Linked DNA regions of Homo sapiens: region 2 is linked to region 1. Evidence: promoter capture Hi-C in 16 types of primary human blood cells and fetal thymus (Javierre and others, 2016). All regions are on one chromosome and are shown on one strand. Each heading gives the region's core, a stretch centred on a gene start or on the middle of the fragment in contact. The rest is flanking DNA. Distances are from core to core; before and after follow the strand shown. Region 1 holds the start of ELOVL4 (ELOVL fatty acid elongase 4). Region 2 overlaps TTK (TTK protein kinase).

Region 1 (5,462 bases), core at 1,498-3,997:
CATGTAGCAAAATTTACTTCTAGAAGATTCAAAGTCTTTCTCTACAACTCTTTAATTAGGTTATTTCTTTTTACTCCTGACTCAACAGGCTTCCAGGTTCACTTTTCTTTGAAAGCAGAGGTTGCTGACAATATTACCAACATGGAAAGGTGGACTAGGAAAAAAAAGATGGATAGCTTGATTTATGTTGCTAACCTTGTATGGACTGTAGGACATTTAAAAATATTTTGTACTGGGTGTGGTGGCTCACTCCTGTAATCCCAGTGGTTTTGAAGGCCAAGGCAGGAGGATTGCTTGCAGGCAGGAATTTGAGACCAGCCGGGGCAACACAGCCAGTCCTCCTTCTCTATCAGCTATTTAGGAGGCTGAGGCAGGAGGATGAGGCAGGAGGATAGCTCGAGCCCAGGAATTCGATGTTGCACTAACCTATGATTACACCACTGCAATCCAGCCTAGCTGATAGAGTGAGACCCTGTTTCTAAAAAGAAAAAAATATTGCTATTTTATACAAAAAAATTTATGATAAAATGTCCTCTCCTTTAGGTTTTGTAGGTAACTGTATCCTATTTGCATTTGATCCACATGAAAGAACTCTGTTCTCAAAGTTTGCAGATGCTGTTGTTGCTTGTATTTGCTTTTACTCTGTTATGATGCTACCAAGATTTTGGTTAGATGGCTGTTATTCTAGGTGGCAGACATGCGGGTTTCCCTCCCTTTGCACAACTAAACAAGGTAGGCTTTGGTTCTGGGCAGTCACTGGTATTTACAAACCACTTATTCATGCCAGGTAATAGGGTTCCAGATTGGGTAAGTTTTATGTTCTGGTTCTTGGTATATGTTTAGACAGCTTATAAATGTAAATAAACATTCTACTCTTACAGGTGGAGTGTGGACACGGTGATATCCGTGTGACCGCCATTCCCAGCTGAAGGTTATCTCATCTATGATTTTCTTATACGTGACTGGCACCCCCTAGTGAATAGGGACTTAAGTTGACCTCCACGGTAGAAGAAATACCAGGGAAATACCTGAAGCTGTTTTAACAATTTCTCCTTGTATTAAGTATTATGCTGCAGTTTTGCGTGTGTGAATGGAAGTATGGGTAGAGATCTGTTCTCCCTAAAAACTCCAGGATTCCACAATATAGAAATAGTAATCAAATTTTTAGGTGAAGCTCGAACTAATCCGAACTTTGTTAGATCATCACTGTAAATGAATGGGTATTTATCCACTCCCTAAATGAAGAGACTTGACTGGATTTCTTTTTTTTATATAGCTACTAGAATCTGTTACACATAATTTAGGATTGAGACTTGAGAAATTGTCATTCCAATCCAGAAAACTTTAGATTTGCAAATATATTTGACAAATTAATAAATTAACATTTTATTTGGTTAATTTCAAGAATAGGGCATTTAAAGAAGTCTGTGTTTGCTTTAGTTCGGCAATAAAGTTCCTGCCACTCACAATAATCCTTATTATTCTCTGAAAGACATGTTATATTTTTGTCATCATAAATATTTATTAATTACTGTTTATAGCACTGGGTTAGGTACTCATCAAGCAACCAAAAATAATTCTTACCATCTAGGATGCTTCCAATATAAAATATAGACAATATATAACCAGGTCAATTGGGAAATAGATCATTTCAGTATGATAAAAGATAGTATTCACATTAACAGTGTGAAAGGGCAGGAACAATAAGACACTTGACTCACTGGTCTTTAAAATGTAGCATCCAAAATGAGCAAGTGGAGAAAAGGTTAAACAAGTAGGTGACACATTTAAAAAACAAGTAGATGAAAGGACTATTCTCAAAAATCTTGTTTTATGTGAGAAACCATCAAATTATGAATTCCAAGTACTGTATTTTTTTTACTTTTCAAGGGTAGGCTCTCCTATACCTTATCTAAACAATTTTTCAAAATAGCCACAATTACTTTGTTTTCCTCTCTACACTAAATTGCCCTTTGCCTCTTGAGCGATTATCTTTTTCAGATTCACCTCAACTTCTTCAGGTTCAAGCGGACTTCACCTGTAAGCCCCTCTCGGTTCTCCCTCTTCTCTGAACTACTAATGGCCTAATTTAGCACAATTATATTGCTTTGTTCATTCCATGTATAGTAAAAGAGTCTACAAAACACATGCAAGCATTCATGCAATTATATGTTGATTTGTTCATGGGTCGACCCCAAAGTCTATTCTCCATCGCTGAAGCATGGAAGACAAATACCCTTCACTTCTTCAGAGGCATAACACATGCACTTCTCTTGTCATGGTGACAGGCATGTGCTGGTGGAGGTCAAAGAAACAGGAACACAAGTGAAATCGAGGTGAGTGTCAGGTAAGGACCAAAGCACCACGCCTACCTCATCTTTGCCCACAGAACACCCATTCTTCCCGTGTCCTGTTTCCCAGGACGTATCCGGGGCGGATAAGAAATCACCCGTGGGGAGGCGGTGAACTCCTCCGCAGGGGCCGATGCCCGGGACAGGGGCGGGGAAGGCTAATGAGGCGACTTGTGCGGGGAGGGGCCAAGGAGGAGCCCAGGTGTCCCGCTCCCGCTCGACGGCGCGCGCCTGCGCGAGCCCAGTTGGCGTCGCACCCTTGAGCGCAGCATCCCTACGCCAGCGAGTCCCAATACTAGGGAGGGAGGGAGGGAGGAGGGGCGGCCGGCCCCCCGCCCCCGCGCGCGGCCACGTGACGCCGGCTGAGGAGATTGGAGGGGCGGCTGCGCGAGGCTGCAGACTGGTGCAGCGCACTGTGCTGGCGGCTGGGCCTCCTCCACCTCCTCGTCTTTCTCCCGGGAACCTTGACGACGCCTTCCGCTTGGCCCTGCCTTCTGCCGCATCCCCGCCGCCGCGGCGCCTTGAGGAGCAGGAGAAGACGCAGCCGGGCCGCCGCCGTTAGAGGGGTTCCCGGCCGCCGCTCGCCCCGTCGGCCGCCACCGCCTCCGGGGTCAGCCCTCTCTCTGGGTCTCCGCTTTCTCCTGCCGCCAGCGCCCGCTCATCGCCGCGATGGGGCTCCTGGACTCGGAGCCGGGTAGTGTCCTAAACGTAGTGTCCACGGCACTCAACGACACGGTAGAGTTCTACCGCTGGACCTGGTCCATCGCAGGTAAAGCCGCTGACTTCCCCATCCTCGCTCGGTCCCCCGCGGGGGGTCACCGGCCCCTGGTCTCGCAGCTCCCGGGCCCGGCCCCACAGGCCCCCGCGCCCTGCGGCTTTCGGATGCTGCGGATCAGCGGAGGGGCCGGCGCGGGCACTGCGGTTGAGCACTGGTTAATCTGATCCGAATGTTAAGGCCTCCCCTCCCCCGACACTCGCAGGGTTTTCTTCTGAGCTCCCTCCATCTCTCATCAGCTCTCGGATGCGGGAGCTGACATATCAGATGGAGCCTGTGCAGCCAGGAGCTCCTCGCAGGAGCCGCCCCACCCTGTGCTCCCACATCTCCCGAGCTCGCCTCCCTCTTCCCCGTGCACAGGATTCCTTTTAACATTTAGTCCTATTTTGTATGGAGAGCGGGCTGGGGAGGAAGGAGGGCTTCAGGGGCAGCTGAAGGTACAGGAGGTTTCTTCAGCCTCCTGGTCGCTTTGACAGAACCCTGCTAATCTTTTCTTCTATCTAGCTCCTTCATCTATAGTATAATTCGGACTGAAAAGTAAAATAATATTGTTTGGCTCCTTGAACCTTGAAGAATGTTAGTTTCCGAGGCATTTTCAACAGCAAATATGTTTGAAGTGATTGTCTATAATGGCTTTGCGCACTGCAGTGCAGTCAGGGGGAGGGGGAGGCCAAAACACCGGGGAAGAAATCAGTCTTTAGGAAGGGGGTCTCTACAGCAACACCTAGAGGTTGTCCCAGATGCCTACATATATACAGTTCTTAAATCAGCAAACTTTTCTTTAGCTGTTGCAGTTAATTTGGCAGGGCTGTCAATTGTTTGATTTATGCAGCTTTCCTAGCGTCCAACTGTGATATTATATTTTTACATTGTACTGTTTATTTCTTCATTTGCTTCGCTGCTTTTGATTTTAAAGCATTTAAAAGTCTTTGAAATCTAAAATAAGGTTTAAAGGATTTCAGAAATGATTTTACGAGGTCAATTTTTCTGGTCCTTTTGCAGTATCACACTGCATCCTATCAGTGAAGGATATTAACGTTCCATCTTATGACTCTGCCTTCCCTACTTCGAAATGAAAATGTACTCCTGTAGTTTTTGTGTTCATTGTTGTTAGAGGAAATTAGACAGTGGTTACAGCATGAATGTAGTCCGATACATAGGGCTTATGTTTTGGGAAAAACGTATGCTGGAATTATTTTTGTGAGAGACAAAATGATTATTTGGCATTAATACTGCATTCACTTCTTTAGAAAAGTATGTTCTTTTTCAGAAGATCTCAACTTTGACACTGGGAAATAAGCTATTTAATAAGCCATTACAGCTGAAAATGGTTAAAAGGCAGTTTTCAATGGAGTGTTTCTTCAGTTTTTTTTTTTGTTTCTATGCGCTATTACACTGATGTTACACTGTACCTGCAAAAACTGGGAAAGATGTGCCCTTCCCTTCACGTCTGTGATTTCGGTTCTTTAAACGTTGCATCAGGGCTTCCCATTACACAATTGTATAGAGCTGAACATCAGACAAGTTCTTTAGCAGGTAATTGCACTTCGCACACCTAGGAGTCAGACACTGTTGAGATACTCCAGTCTCCATATAGCCAGAGCCACACCCAGGAGTTCTCGGTCCTGTCATTCCTATCCTATCCCGGAGCTTTCCCATCTCTTGAGTCTCAGAAGGAAAAATTGAGGGCAAAGGTAGAATACACCTTTCTGTGATGGTGAATTCCTTCCTGATGATGTTTGTGTAAAAGAAACCACACACACACAAATGAAACAGGAAATTTTGTGCAGTTGCCGCATGTGAAAGCTTGCTACTAGGCTTCGAAGGGCATATAAAATAATATAATATTGTGGGCCAAGCCTGAGAAGTGAGAGTAGCCTTAGAACACAAGTGACCTCTCACTAGCAGGCCGAAGGAAGGTATTTGCCTATGCTTTGACTATCCACTTACGAAACCTGAGACTGCTTCCTTGCTTTCTGTAATGAGCTACCTTATGTAGGCAGATGGTATTTCTTAACCAACAGAGAGGCTTAGTGGATATAGTCTGTTCTGCTGTACTGCTGTGTGAGGAGGAGTATTTTTCAGGTCCAGGCCGAATAGACCTGAAGTCTGTGGTGTCCCATTTACGTTTACTCTCCCTCATTCTATGCCCCTCGTGTTCCTTTTTTTTTTTTTTTTTTTTTTTTGGACTCATTCACTCTGCTCTGATTCCACCTCTCAGCATAATTTGATGAAAATCTGGGTGGGGGATATCAAAATAGAAAAGTAGCTTATAAGATGAGGTTAAACAAAAGTTGGTGAGTCAAATGTTTGGAAAGAAGGGGAAACAGAAATGG
Region 2 (5,462 bases), core at 2,176-4,675, 95 kb before region 1:
CTTAACATGAATAAGGGTGTATTCCAAAAACCTCAAGCAAGAACCAATTGAATAGTGAAACACTAAAATCATCTCCTTTAAAATCAACAACTAGCACTATCACTATTTTCATTCAATATTAAAATATATTAGTGCACTCAAAAAAAGAAAGAAGAAAAAGGAACATAATTTAGTAATAAACAAATGGAGCACCCCTATGTCTGATGTGATGATCCTACATGTGATGACTATTTATATAGAAAACCCTGGAACCTTTAGGTTAATTAGGAAAATAAAAATCTTAGCAAGGTGGCTAGCTGTTAAGTTCAATACGCAAAAATCAATTACACTCCCTGATGAATTGCAAAAATAAAATTAAATTAAAAAACCAATTATGGTGCTATAAAAGAACAGAAAATTAAGAAAGGTAATTTTTAAAAGATACTATTTACAACAGCAACAGAGCTTTTGTAATAAAGCCGACAAAAGATGTGAAAGACCTGTATAAAAAAAGTATAAAGTTTATTGAATTGTAAGAGAAGACCTAAATAAATTGAGAACTATATCATGTTCATTGATAGGAAGACTCATATCATAAAATGGCAATTATCTCTAAATGACCTAAATGTTCTATGAAACTATAAATACAATCTCGATATGATTTTTAAAATTATTTTATTTATTGTATTTTTTGTATTTACCTCCTGGAGGCAGGAGCTCACTCTGTCACCCAGGCTGGAGTGCTGTGGCATAATCATAGCTCATTGCAGCCTCAAACTCCTGGACTCAACTGATCCTCCTGCCTCAGACTCCCAAAAAGGTAGGACTATAGATATGCTGCACCACCACACCCAGCTAATTGTTTTTTATTTTCATTTTTTGCAACTAATGGATCTGATTATGTAGCCCATGTTGGTCTCAAACTCCTGGCCTCAAGGACTCTCCCTGCCTCAACCTCTCAAATTGTTGGGATTCCTAGCATGAGCCACCACCATGCCTGGCCTCAACATGATTATTTTGTGTATGGAATTTACTGAACTGATAAAATTGATATGAATGCTCAAGGGGCCAAAAATAGCCGATACTCTCCTAAAAGTATATTCAACACATTAACTGATTCTGACTATAGGTAATTGTAATACAAAGAACACTTATAAAGAAATAAAAAAAGGTAATACAAAAATAAATATGACATGAAACATATGAATACCAGAGAGTAAGAACCTGGCTTTTCAGTGATAGAAAGAAAAAAAAAAAACAAAAAAGAATGGTCAATAAACATATGGCAAAATGCCCACCCTCATTGCTAAACAAAAAATTAAAGACACTGCAAAAATACTATTTTATACCTATGAGACAGCAAAAACCTTTAAATTCTGACAATATTAAGTATAAAAGATGTTGTATGTAGACCAATGAGTTCTTAATACTGATAGTGGGAATATAAATTGGCATGAATTTTAGTTTTTCAAATTAGTGGGAAATTATGGAATCCAAACATTAATGAAGATGAGAACCCAGAGAGGTAAGCACAACAGAGCATTTGTCTTTAGAAGAAACATCTGTGAAACTGAGGTATAGGTTTGGCAACCTGGTAGAGTATGATAAACGACTCAAAATCCAGGAACTTCCTAAGGAGGAAAGACACACCTGACATTTGCTTTAAGCTGGAACCAGAAGGGCTGACCTCCCTGGACAAGTGTCCTCTAGAAATAAACCAAGTGGATTTTAACCTGATTTTGCATCACCTGGTTCTGAGAACCTCAAGCTTTGAACTTGGAATATTCTAGCCCTAGGTAAGCCTCTGGGATCTGGTATAAGCAAGCAAAAATCTTCTCTGCATTTGGAAATCCATCTTTGGAAGACGCCATTATAGGAAACCTCATATGCTTGCTTTTTTTCCCTCAAGTACCATGACTAGTACAAAGACAAAGATAATATTCCACACACAAAATAATCACAACATGATTATTTTGTGTGTGGAATTTAATGAACTGATAAAATTGATATGAAAACTCCAAGGGCAAAAAGTAGCCAATGCTTTCCTAAAAATGTATTTTCAAAACATTAACTGATTCTGACTATAGGTTAGTAATTGTAAAACAAACAAGACACTTTCATCAAGAACCCATTGAAGCAATAGACAAAACGATGCTTTTCCCCATAAGAGAATTTCTAACTCTAAACAAGTATTAAAAAAAATTGTTTATATGCACATTAAATTTCAAGATAATTTTAAAAAGAAAAAAATCAACAGTATTCTCAATGAACACATGTAGACAAATGCCTGACTTCCAAGTTGAATTTTTACCATGTTTTCTCTATAAGTGTGGTTTGCAGAATTCCTGTTTAAGCTTACTACTTACCTATTACACTACATTAACTTAAAACCAATAATTCTGAAAACTAATAACCATAGTTACAAATTTGGGAATGAAGAGAATGAGAAGAAATGCCACAAGTGGGAGAATATATGTGCAAAAGACATCTGATAAAGGACTGTTATTCAAAATACACAAAACTCTTAAACCTCAATAAGAAAATGAACCAATTTAAAAATGGGCAAAAGAAGATACACAGATGCAAATGAGCATATAGAAATGAGATGCTCAAAATCATGTCATTAGGGAAATGCAAATTAAAATGAGATACCCCTACCAACCCATTAGAATGCCCCATATCCAAAACACAGACATCAAATGCTGGAAAGGATATGGAGCCACAGGAACTCTGAAACATTGCTGGTGAAAACGCAAAACAGTACAACCACTTTGGAAGACAGTTTGGTGCTTTCTTACACAACTAAACACTCTTACATAGATTTTAGCAGTTAAACTCCTTGGTCCCAAAGGAGTATTTAGCCAAAAGAGCTAAAAAAAATTAGGTCCAGACAAAAGCATGCACATAGCAAGTTTATTCACAATTCCCCAAATTTGGAAGCAACCACGGTATCTTTCAGCAGATAAAGAGATAAACTGTGGAACATCCAGACAATAGAATATTAACTAGTGCTAAAAAGAAATAAGCTAGCAAGCCATAAAAAGACATGTTGCTAAGTGAAAGAAGCCAATCTGAAGAGGCTATAGACTGTATGATTCCACTTACGTGACGGTCACATTCTGGAAAAGTAAAACTACAGAGATAGTAAAAAGATCAGTGGTTCCCAGGCATTAGGGTAGAGGGAAGGATGAAGGGACAAAGAACAGAGGACTTTCAAGACAGTGAAACTATTCTGTATCATGTTACAATGGTAGATAAATGTCATTAAATATTTATCAAAACCTAAAGAATATACAATACCAAGAGTGAACCCCAATATAAACTATGGACTTTGGGTGATAATATGTTAAGGTAGGTTTACGGACTGTGATAAATGTACCATTGTGGTGTGGAATGTTGATATGGTGGATGCTGATAGCAAGGGAAGTTATACATGTGTGGGGGTGGGGTGGGGAAAGGATACATGGGAACTCTGTACGTTCTGGTCAATTTTGCTGTGAACTTAAAACTGCTATAAAAAATAAAATCTCTTAAAATCTTTTTTTAAAAATTGAGAAAAGGATGCTATGTGAGGATACTTTAAGCTATCAGATTCAGTCAAGAGACTCTGGGGCCACATTTACAATTATCCATTACCTAGCAAGTCATACAGTGAGGGCATGCCCTATACAGCTTACAACACAGAATCCAGCATGATATTCTAAATACCAAAAACAACAGACGTTATGAATATCTGAAAGAGCCAAGTTCAGTCCTAAAATTATAGACTGTTATCGGTGCCGGAAATAATTAGGAAGTCTATTTTGGAATTCAAACCCTTCAGGATTTGTTTTTCAAAGTTCATTTACTAAGGTCTAGTCTCACATCTTCCCTAATCTACTTTTTACTAATTAAGAATTTTGCTGCCATGCCAACAATACATTTGCTTAAAGAAAACAACCTTACAACTTTGAAATGTTAGTGTCATTTTAGCCACAAAACTTTATTTACAAAGTTTTTTAGAATATACTTGCTATCCACCCACTATTCCAAGAGTAAAATGATGTCAAGTAGATTACACAAGAGCATAAAACAGAGAAAACAAGTCTACAATATATACAGTGCCATAAGTGGTTGCTATTTTTACAGTTTTCTTTTAAAGATAATCTACTGAATTTTTTTTGCTGATAACACTTCAGAGTGATGTTGTCTTCAAATGTAGATTTCCACAGGGATTCAAGAGTATAACAGTCCAATATATTTTATAGGTGGTATCTGACATTACGAATAACTGCAAATCATTTTTTTCCCCTTTTTTTTTCAAAAGTCTTGGAGGATGAAGAATTATGACTTTCACCACCACTATAGTGTTCATATAAAGTCTGAAATTAAAAAACACAAATCTGTTTTGCAATTTTTTAGTTAAATGTACTGTCACATCAGTAGATGTATTTTGATGTATTCTAAATATAATACATTTATTTCTCTCTTGTTCTTACAGTTGGGAAATTATTTTATAAACTATTAGAGATAATAAAGAATTTTAAACACGAAGCTTGGCCTTAAGCATTACCTATCATGAGATATAACTCAATCTTTCTATGAGAGAAATATAACAGAGCTACTAATAAACATACATATGAGCCTTCAAGGCCTTCTTTATCTCTTTACTTTTTCTTAAATAAAGCCAGTCTTAGGTAAATTCCTATACAAAATATATTTATTAGGAAACTTTATATTCTCAGATGATAATAAGCTAATAAATAGAAGACATTACAAATTATATAAATATAATAATTAGATATATATTAAAATCCATGTATTTAAAAATGATTTAAGACTCAGCTAACATCTAACTTATGAAGATGGCAGACATCTTTGCCCTCAAGGAACATACAACTTCAGTTATAAAAATAATCCACCTCAACTATAGCTATAAGAGGCTTTGAATAATATATTAGTATAAACTTAAAACATGGAGATACAAAATACAGAGCAATTACAAAACAAATTTGGTCCACTTTTAATTACTAAATCCATTGATTTAGCCATTAGCATTTGAGAAAATTTAAGAAAACAGGTACCTCATATCATATAAATGCAAATATAGTGAATATATAGTAAATTCCTTCAAAAAATGTATTCAAGTTCTTGGCAACTTAGATGGATTTTATATGTATCCAGAGAGCTACGAGTATTGATAGTTTAGGTTCCCATAATTTTATGATAATGTTGTAACTGAAATACATAATTAGTAACTGCTTGTTGGCTAAATCAGTTGGTCAATAAGCATTCACAGGGTTCTAGAAATAACTAGGTGTTTGAAAAATCATGGTATAGATATAAATGGACATTGGGAAGCTAAAAAGCTTGAGACTTGTGCTTTGAGAATTGTGTTGATTGCTGTGTACAGCTTCAAAAAAGCCATTACATGTAATGTCTCTAAGGAAAAAACTGGCTAAAAGGAATGAATTCAAAAGCTGTATTAATAATGGTGCTGAATT

What was found. Contacts are between HindIII fragments. The CHiCAGO score rates a contact against its expected background, and 5 or more counts as called.
Region 2: a fragment that was not itself captured here is called in contact with the fragment with the promoter of ELOVL4 in region 1 in 1 of 17 cell types (fetal thymus); the score reaches 8.4 in fetal thymus.

Annotation. Positions count from the first base shown.
Region 1 is chr6:79,944,838-79,950,299 of GRCh38, reverse strand. ELOVL4 (ELOVL fatty acid elongase 4) reads left to right here and starts at 2,747. Exons shown (of 6, transcript NM_022726.4): 1 at 2,747-3,120. The coding sequence starts at 3,021. LOC124901350 reads left to right here and starts at 667. Exons shown (of 2, transcript XM_047419628.1): 1 at 667-732; 2 at 2,289-2,913. The coding sequence starts at 2,485. The coding sequence ends at 2,913. LOC124901351 (a long non-coding RNA gene) reads right to left here and starts at 2,495. Exons shown (of 3, transcript XR_007059656.1): 1 at 2,373-2,495. RefSeq lists a silencer at 2,638-2,687. The HindIII fragment of the contact is 8,446 bases long and covers 1-4,934 here.
Region 2 is chr6:80,040,997-80,046,458 of GRCh38, reverse strand. TTK (TTK protein kinase) reads right to left here. Exons shown (of 22, transcript NM_003318.5): 22 at 3,932-4,340. The coding sequence ends at 4,257. Among named protein-coding and RNA genes, the nearest start is that of TTK, 39 kb to the right of the region's middle. The HindIII fragment of the contact is 2,180 bases long and covers 2,336-4,515 here.